2 separate regions of the Homo sapiens genome follow, and region 1 is linked to region 2. Evidence: promoter capture Hi-C in 16 types of primary human blood cells and fetal thymus (Javierre and others, 2016). All regions are on one chromosome and are shown on one strand. Each heading gives the region's core, a stretch centred on a gene start or on the middle of the fragment in contact. The rest is flanking DNA. Distances are from core to core; before and after follow the strand shown. Region 1 overlaps NCAPD3 (non-SMC condensin II complex subunit D3). Region 2 holds the start of JAM3 (junctional adhesion molecule 3).

Region 1 (4,617 bases), core at 1,378-3,877, 110 kb before region 2:
TCAGTAGAAATAGTGTCTAGAACAAGAGGAGCAGTGATCCTGTGTGCTGGCTGATAGTTCAGTATCAGTGACAAATTTACAGAGAAGTGTTGATGAAATTGAATATAACTAGAGGAGAGCAGTTAAATAAGGGTATCACAAAGCAAGTTATGTAAGGAACTGCAGAAGGGCCTGGAGTCTTTAGCATGGAGAAGGGAAGGGTTGGGGACGGTAGGCTGCCTAGCTAAATTCAAATTTATGAAGGACTTTCAGATAAAAGAATTGGATTTATTTGGTATTCCCAGACAACCTATCTGGACCAATGAATGGAAATTATAAATTTTGGTGAACTGCAGAGAAAACTTACTGAGGTCTGCCCAAAATGGTGGGCTTGCCCCAGAGCATGTCCCCTGTTATTGGAGGTATTCAGGAGAAGCTGGACAAGGACTTGGAACAGGCTGCCATGTGGAGAGAATGCCAGGATTGGGTGGCCTTGTCAGCTTTCCCAGATTCTGTGATACCGAAACTTACTAGTCCTAGTACCCAGGTTCTGGCCTCATTGGGATCAAGCATAAGAATTGCAGAAACTCTTTGGGCCAATGTTGTGGTCCAGGTTGTGCAATCTATTAAAATTTTAAATGTAATAGTTCTTTTAGAAGTAATAAAGCCAATAGTTTCCAGATACGTTAGGGCAAGTCAGACTAAAAGCATTGCTCATAGTGGTGGCTTGCCAGGCACTGGATGATGGTTAACACAGGTCCCTTCCTAAGGCACTACAGAGGAGTGGGGGAGGTGCGTGCACATCAGCAGATAATTTCAACATAATGTCATCATTCCTAAAATAAAAGTCGGCATCGGGTAACATGGAAGCAAGGGGGTGGAGGCCCTTAGCTCAACCTAGGTGTTTTGGAATGGTTTCCTACAGAAAATGAGGTCCAAGAATTCTAGAATGTGGTTGGGAGCTCTCTCTCTTCCTTGGCATAGAGGAACAGTCCAATGTGCACTAGAAGTCACCCCTTGAAGTTATTGTAATCAGTGAGAGACACGGAACACTTGTCCCTAATGCATAAATTTCAGAAGAGTAGCAACTCTATTTTATGTCTTTAAAAAATGTTTATCACAGTAGTTAATTCATCATCTGTATATGGCAGCAAAACTACAGCTTATTTCTGTATTTTTGGAGGAGCACTACTATTATAGATCTCTTACAAATTACTACATGGGGTCATTGTAAATATTTGGCCTTTTGCTCTTATAGGGCAAATGTAAAAAGAAAGATGATATATACACCGTTCTTTATAAATTCCACTTAGCCAGTACTCATGGCTAGATTGCTTAAATGCATGTCATTGTGGTTTTGGACAAATTGTGGGAAAGAGGAAAGCTAGGAAGCACCCCTACAGCCTATCCATTTGAAGATCATAGTTTCTTCTGAGAACATGGTGTTTCATGGGTAGTCTGGGAGATGTGCGGGGCCCTTCAGAGATGACTTTTGACTTGCCGTAGGAATTGCTGACGCAGGTGTGTGGGGATGTACTCTCCACCTGCGAGCACCGCCTCTCCAACATCGTTCTCAAGGAGAATGGAACAGGGAATATGGACGAAGACCTGTTGGTAAGCGACTGCTTTTCCTAACCATTCTTTTCGCTTCCATTTTATCCGTGAGGTTCTATTAAAGATGACTTTGTCATGTACGCTTTAAATGCTTTTAACAAAAGAGCTGTCTTAGCCTAGAGCTTACTTTCTCTTTTTAGAAGATATTTTTAAATTGATAACCTATTCATTTTTTTCTTATATACTTTTTATCGGTGGGGAAACTCAATGGTATACGCTTCATCTAGTTCAGTCTTATGAGAAGCCTGATTTCAGTAGGGAAAACACAGTATGTGTTGTAAGGTTGGTATAGTCAAGCTTAGAAATGTAAGGTAAGAAATAATAATGTGAGTATAGTGTTTTTGGTTTGTGTGTTTGCTTTTTTAAAAATTTAACATGTCTTCTGAGCTATTTGAACATCAGACAGTAGAACTGGGGAACAGTGCTGAGCAATTGCCAAGTAATGACTGAAATAAAATGAGAGATTTGACAATTCAGAACACAGATGACCTTGGAGCCCCAAGATTGTTTTCTGTGGCACCCCTGCTTTAGAAACTGTAAACGGTGCAAGAAATTCCCGTGAGCCAGGACGGGACAGTGGGCTGATTTCAGTGGCTGACTGGGGATAAGATGTATGGCAGTAATTCTGGTTCCAACATCTGACTTTGTCCAGTAAAGGAAATAATGAGCTGCTTTTTGATGCCATTCAGCACAGATCATTATTTAACCAAAACGGGCCATTTTTCTCATATGTTTAAATTAGTGGAGCACGTCTTTTCTGTGTTCAGTTTCTGCTTGTTGGCCTAGCTCTCCTAACGCCCAGTGATCACCGACCAAGCTTAGATTTGTTCAAAGAGAAGACCATTGAGCCTGAGGCACTACTGTGCACGTGATCAGGAATACAGAGCCTCACTATGGGAACCTGGGTGCTTTAGGTAAGAGCACCAGGGAGTGTAGCACAGGCTTGGCCCAGGGCTTCTAGAGGGTCTTGCTCTTCTCATTTCTGCCCACATTAAGAAAGATGCTTACTATGGTCAGTGAGTCTTGTCCCCACCCCTCCTCCCCCAGGTTTTTTTCAACTGTTAACCGTGTCATCAAAATCTACTCTTCAGTCAAAATATATATGGAGAGGTTTTGCCCTATATACATAGTTTCATTCTTGCTTCTTTAAATAGAACTTAAATATTTTTTTAATGAAGAGATACAGTATTTCAAGATTCTTTTAAACTCATATACTTTGTTATTGGCTTTCTTACCCTAGAATAAGCTTTTATTTGACATTTTACTATTCAGCATCATCCCTTCATTTGGGGTGTAAATAAAAAAAGAACAATATTACTTAGTTGTTAAACTGAATGTTATGAAGAAACACAGCATGGCAGCTGTGAGTAGGTTTTTGATGGGGTCTACATAGAAAAATAATCTGGAGGGCAACTTGAAAATGTGTTTCAAAATGTGAAATAGCTTTATATACTCTTTACCTTGGATTTTACTTCTGAGGAAAGAGAGCAGTATCTAAGGATACACAGGTGTTCACCAGAGCTAATCGAAACATTAGCAAAGGGAAACAGCATCAGTGTTCATTGATACTGGAATAGTGCAGTAAGTTATGACGACAGTCCTAGTTTTGAAATGGCATATACTTATGTAGTCATTAAACATATGTGTCATACATATTGACATGAAACGATGCCTAATATTCAAAGTAATCATTGCAGACTTCAAAATACTATACTTGGTAAGTGTATAAGAAAAGTAAACATAAAGCCACGTGACTATAGAAATACTTTGAAAAAGTTATACACAAAAACAATAATGGTGTCTCTGGGTGGTAGGGTTATAGGTAGATGTATCCCAGTTTACCCAAGATAACCCTAGCGTACACCTATTTTCACAAAATAATTATTAATAGCACCCCCTTTTACTTGCAGATGTGTCTAGATTTAGATGATAAAATTATATGCTTGCCCTAATTTTGGATGAGTTTCATTACATAGTGACTAAGTTTTTACAATAGCCATGTATTTTTATGAAACGAAAACTAGTAACATTGTTTTAAATTTGGGGGATAAAGGAAATACTCCATTGACATGTCCTTAATCTAGCTAGAGTTCACTTTTCTTTTGCCTTATTTTTACTGTAAAACCAATTATCTTTGTAGGTGAAGTACATTTTTACCTTAGGGGATATAGCCCAGCTGTGTCCAGCCAGGGTGGAGAAGCGCATCTTCCTTCTGATTCAGTCCGTCCTGGCTTCGTCTGCTGATGCTGACCACTGTAAGGCATTTGAAATCATACTCTGTAGCACGCATGCCGTTTCAAGGTTCTGTCGGTAACTTTCTCTCCCTTCTTTGCAGCACCATCATCTCAAGGCAGCAGTGAGGCCCCAGCGTCTCAGCCACCCCCCCAGGTCAGAGGTTCTGTCATGCCCTCTGTGATTAGAGCACATGCCATCATTACCTTAGGTAAGAAAAACATGGGAGAATGGGGCTTGACATCGTTCTGTGTGTAGCTGTTGTCTTAAGTAAGCCCAGCCATGGGACTGTGTCAGGGGCTGCGGAGCCTGTCTGTGTCTGCTCTCAGCCATGTGGTTCCTAGAGGTGGCTCTGATCTGAGTGCTGAGCTCTGCATAACTGCGTGCTGGTCATGAGAGCCCTCAGGCTGATAAGTCCTCAAGACTAAGGTACTCTCTAGAGGGTCTAGAGGGAGCTTTTGTTTTTCAGTAGGGTTATGTTAATTTATTACAATTATACCTGTTTCTGTAATTTTTTTTCAATACCTTCACTTGACTTGAATATTCCTGTAATATTTTAATATTCATAATGCAGCCCCACGAAGTCTGTTCTGTGCCGGGCACTGCACTGAGTTCTGGAAATGAAGAAATAAATTTTCCATAAAAGGAAATGGTTTATTTAGTACTTTCCAGAATTGGCTAGATGACTATTTACATATTTCTCCATGAACTCAAATTATTTTTAATCTTGAAAACACTGACCTCTGTGCTGGAAATTGTATTTTGTTTTTTTGTTTTTTTATTTTTCCTTTA
Region 2 (4,416 bases), core at 1,000-3,499:
TAACACTCCCGACAAGGGTCTGAATCTCTCCATACTTCTGTTCCCTCATCCACAAAAGGGCACAACAATAGTAACGACTTCTTAGAGTTATCAAGATTAAATAAATTAGCAAACATTAAATTCTTGTAACAGAGCCTGGCAAAGGGTAACCACAAAAGAAATGTTTGCTGTTATATCAAGAACCAAAATTTTTAAGATGAAAATAAATAGTAATAGCAATTGAGAATAATCATAAAAAATAAAAAGGACACAGTAGTCATGACTTCTGGAAGAACAGTTTTAGGGTAGCTTAAAGCATAAACCAAATAATGGAAAAAGAGCCCCTACTAAAAAAAAGATAGCTACACGCCTTCAAAGTGGATTCATACATCCTACTACCTCGATTATTTGTCATTAGAACTAGTTTGCAAAATTTGATTCTTCCTCCTACGCTCTGCATGTGAATCCCAGCCCCTACCAGCAAAAAAGCCACAAAACTAGTCCCTTAGGGGAAGGAAATCAGAGGTTAAGGGTAAGTGAAGCTCTTTGCATTTTCTAGTTTTATTAACAAACTACCAAGTTGAAATTCATTCCTGAGCTAAACTGCCAAATGCTTCTGCAACAAAAACTGCAAACTTTCACGTGAACAGATCTTTTCAACAATAGAGAGTTGTTCCAGGCTGTGAATAGGACAGTGTCAGTGTGACCAACACAGCGGGTGCTGGACATTCCTGACACCCTTGTCCCCTGGCTAGCCTTTGATCACTTATCTCCCAACAGCATTTGGTTTTGGGAATCACTTTCAGGCAAAGTATACAGACTTTGCCTTAGCGTACATAATCTATACGCTAAAACTCATCTTTTGTCACAGCCCATCACGAGCATCCCATTAGCATAAAGCACCAAACACAGGAATGCTTTGTTTTCCAAAATCTGTCCACCTTCACTCCTAAACAGTCCCTCCGTGTTTTAATTTGTATATTCTGGAAAACATCATGGGATGACAGTGGCAATTCAAACAATAAAATAATCTAAGAACCGAAAAAGGTCCTGGTCTGGTTACCTGCGGATGGCTGCCAGGGGAAGAGTGTGGTGTCCTGCTTTAGGTAAATATGAAGTTGAGGCTTCACTACTTAGAATGCAGCCTTGGAAAGCAGACTAGACTTGACTCTGAAAATGGATTAATGAAACCTATCTCACAGAGCTGCTGAAAGGAGTAAACGAGATAATGGCTCCAAAGTGCCTAGTAGACAGTACAAGCTCACTAAAGGAAAGCTATTTTAGTCCTCTGTACAACTGTCCAGGAAAATGTGGATCTAATGAGAATTCCAAACAGAGGGAAAGAAAATGCACAAAACTATCAAGTTTATTAGTGTGTCTTGATCAAATGCCCCGAATGCTATTTCCGGATAAGAGTCTGCGTGGTCTCCTCGGCCAGGCCAGAGACAAAAAAGGTACTGGATTGATATCCATTTTATTTCTGTAAAAGAAAAGCAGTTCCTTTGTGTCGAGTCAAATGAACTGCAGATCCCCAGAGGGCTGTGACCAAGCAGCCCGCCAGGCCTCGGAGCTCTGCCTCGCCGGTCCTCAGCTACGTCCCCCGCTCACCGTCCCTTCTGGAGAGCACAGCACTGCTGCGCAGGGTCTTCCAGCAAGTTCCAGCGCCCACGCCGCAGCTGCCGCGCTCCCTCCAGAGGGCCGTGCCCACCGCCCGGGAGGGGTCCACCCCGGGGACGAGCCCACCGCCCAGCACAGGACCCCGCCTGGGAGGAGCCCACCCGGGGGATGAGCCCACCGCCCAGCACAGGACCCCGCCTGGGAGGAGCCCACCCGGGGGATGAGCCCACCGCCCAGCACAGGACCCCGCCCGAGAAGAGCCCGCCCCCGGGGTCCGACGGCTGTCCGGGACCGACTCACTGCCTGGGACGGGCCCCCCATCCCAAATTAGCTCCCCGCCCCGGTCCAACTGCCGGGCGTCCCAGGGCCCCCGCCCTAGCCAGGCCCGAGTCCCAGCCCTGGCTGCGGGGACGCGGGCGCGCGCCGCCCCTCCGGCCCGGGACCCCGGGAGCCCTCGGAGCCAGGACCGCTATCCTCGCCCGGACCGGCTCCAGCAGCTTCGGCCCGCTCTGCTTCCGTCGCCCCCAGACCCTAGTCTCCCAACAGCGGAAACGCGCAAACTCACCCCTGAAAAGCAGCAGCAGGAAGAAGTCAGGCAGCCGAGCGCAGAGCCGGAGTCGCGGTGGCCGCCTCAGCGCCATGTCGAGGGTTGCTGAGGGGCCAGCGGCAGCGCGGCGCGGCTTGTAGTCCCCGCGCGCATGCGCCCAGCCTGCCAGGACCCTGCGACCCGCCCCAGTTACCATGGCGACCGCCGGGCCCAGCCGAGCCGGCACCATGGTGACAGAGGAAGCTGAGGTCTAGCTGCTTACGGATGCAGCGATGCTCTGGACCGGCACATGGGTTCTCTTTCAATGAACTTGGCGGGAGGAGAGTAAAGAAGTATGTACAAGAGTGAAGCAGGGTATATTTCCATAGCTATAGAATAAATCCATCACAACAGGTCGGAGAAGGAACACTCCTTTAAAATTTGGGAAATAAAGTATTTCTTATTTTACAAATAAGGATGCAGCCCAGTTATCTTGGAAGCATTATCGCCTTCACATCTTTTGGGCCCCCAATTCCAAATTGATGGAAGGAAAAGAGCTGAAATCTGCTTAAAACATAAGCAATACATACATTATACAGCATATAAAAGTGATGTCTTGCTAAAATAATTTGTTTATGTGGTAGATCAAAAGCATGATGGCATACCCAATAGTTTATTCTGCAGAAAAGCAGACTAATTATTTGCTCTGATTTCTGAATACTGGGAGATAGTAAAACCAGGGAAGAACAGGTAAGATGAGGACAAACAGGAAAAATGAAGAGAAGGATAAATTAAAGCAGAAATTAGATCTAAAAAAGCAAGAGTATTTAAAGTCTCACTTAATACTATGGAAAATACTTGAAAAGCTTGTATTTTAGCAAGTATAGAAAGTACACCTCCAATGTTCCCAGAAACAGCAGTCTAGCAACAGAATTCTGAATATAATTGTTAGTAAAATAAGCCAGTTTCCAACTAATATTTTTAATGTTTAACTTTTTCATATACTCATGCTACTTTTTTAGTATTTTTAGTTTTCATGCAAAATAGAAGTATATTTACATATTATGTATACCAAATTTATATATGTAAAAGCCGGGAAACGTGAAATAGATTGAGATTGTTGCCAAGAATATGCTTCAGTTTCCATCACTGTATAATCTTCTTTGTAAATCTTTATAACTGCTCAGATCTTTATGTTAATTGATTACCTTCTCAAAAATCTTATAAAGACAGAATAAAAATTAAAAAATAACTCAATTACCTACTATGATTCTGTCTTTCCTTTCATAAATCTTCTTTATGTTCCAGGTCACCATGCACTAAATCACAAGTAAAAGTGTGTAAAAGTTGTTTTATAATGGTGGCCTCTTTCCCTTTATCAAGCACAAAATCGAGAAATTAAAAAGAAGAAAATTCGTCTTATGCCCACTGACATTTTTTTCTGCCCTCTGTTTTCCCTATTATTCCCTTTAGCTCCTGGTCACATGGCCAGGCATATTTACCTAACTGAAGGAACTGTTTGGGTTACTTGGAAATGTGAGATGGTGTCTGACTGTGGACAGAGCACGGTTTTCAAAAACCAGTGCCTCTTTTCTCCTGCGGAATTTTCAGTGTTTGCGTTGTAAAATGGTCTATCTGTTAAATGGTCTTCCTGCTAGGGAATCTTTTGAAACTCAGACCGAGATTACAAAAAAGGGCTGCATGAATATTCTATAAGGGGCAGAGGTTCCTAGGAGAGTGGATGGCAGGTGCTTCATTGTAAGACATTGATTTTCCTCTGCAGATGGAGTCGGCATGTCATTACCAACAGCTGAGACAGTTCCTGGAATGGAAGTCTAACTAGGGATGCAGCAGAGTGGGGTAGGACACACGTGGCTGTGAAGTGGTCTGCTCTTCCTTAGGGTTTCATTGTTCCCTGGAGAGCTCTGACCCTGTGCAGAAGGGAATCAGAGCTCAATAAGGCCAGCAGCAAAGTCCTGGAAGCATTCCGTGAGCAGGGCTGAGGAGGCTCTGCCTCCATCACAGCATTACTCATCTGAATATGCTTATTTCTAAGGTGTGGCTTACTAGGGAGACATGCACTTCTTAAAAGAGCTCGGGGAACTGAATGTAAACCAACAATAAAATGCTAAGCCCTGGCCAGGCGTGGTGGCTCACGCCTATAATCTCAGCACTTTGGCAGACCAAGGAGGGAAGACCATGAGGTCAGGAGTTTGAGACCAGCCTGACCAACATGGTGAAACCCTGTCTCTACTAAAAATACAAAAATTTGCCAGGCATGGTGGCAGGCGCCT

What was found. Contacts are between HindIII fragments. The CHiCAGO score rates a contact against its expected background, and 5 or more counts as called.
Region 1: a fragment that was not itself captured here is called in contact with the fragment with the promoter of JAM3 in region 2 in 5 of 17 cell types (activated CD4 T cells, naive CD4 T cells, non-activated CD4 T cells and 2 more); the score reaches 7.5 in activated CD4 T cells.

What each region holds. Positions count from the first base shown.
Region 1 is chr11:134,178,053-134,182,669 of GRCh38, reverse strand. It overlaps NCAPD3 (non-SMC condensin II complex subunit D3), which reads left to right. Exons shown (of 35, transcript NM_015261.3): 20 at 1,486-1,593; 21 at 3,734-3,848; 22 at 3,929-4,036. Among named protein-coding and RNA genes, the nearest start is that of SNORD153, 29 kb to the right of the region's middle. The HindIII fragment of the contact is 429 bases long and covers 2,413-2,841 here.
Region 2 is chr11:134,066,905-134,071,320 of GRCh38, reverse strand. It overlaps JAM3 (junctional adhesion molecule 3), which reads right to left and starts at 2,249. Exons shown (of 9, transcript NM_032801.5): 1 at 2,162-2,249. The coding sequence starts at 2,237. RefSeq lists a silencer at 2,255-2,444. The HindIII fragment of the contact is 4,850 bases long and covers 1-2,990 here.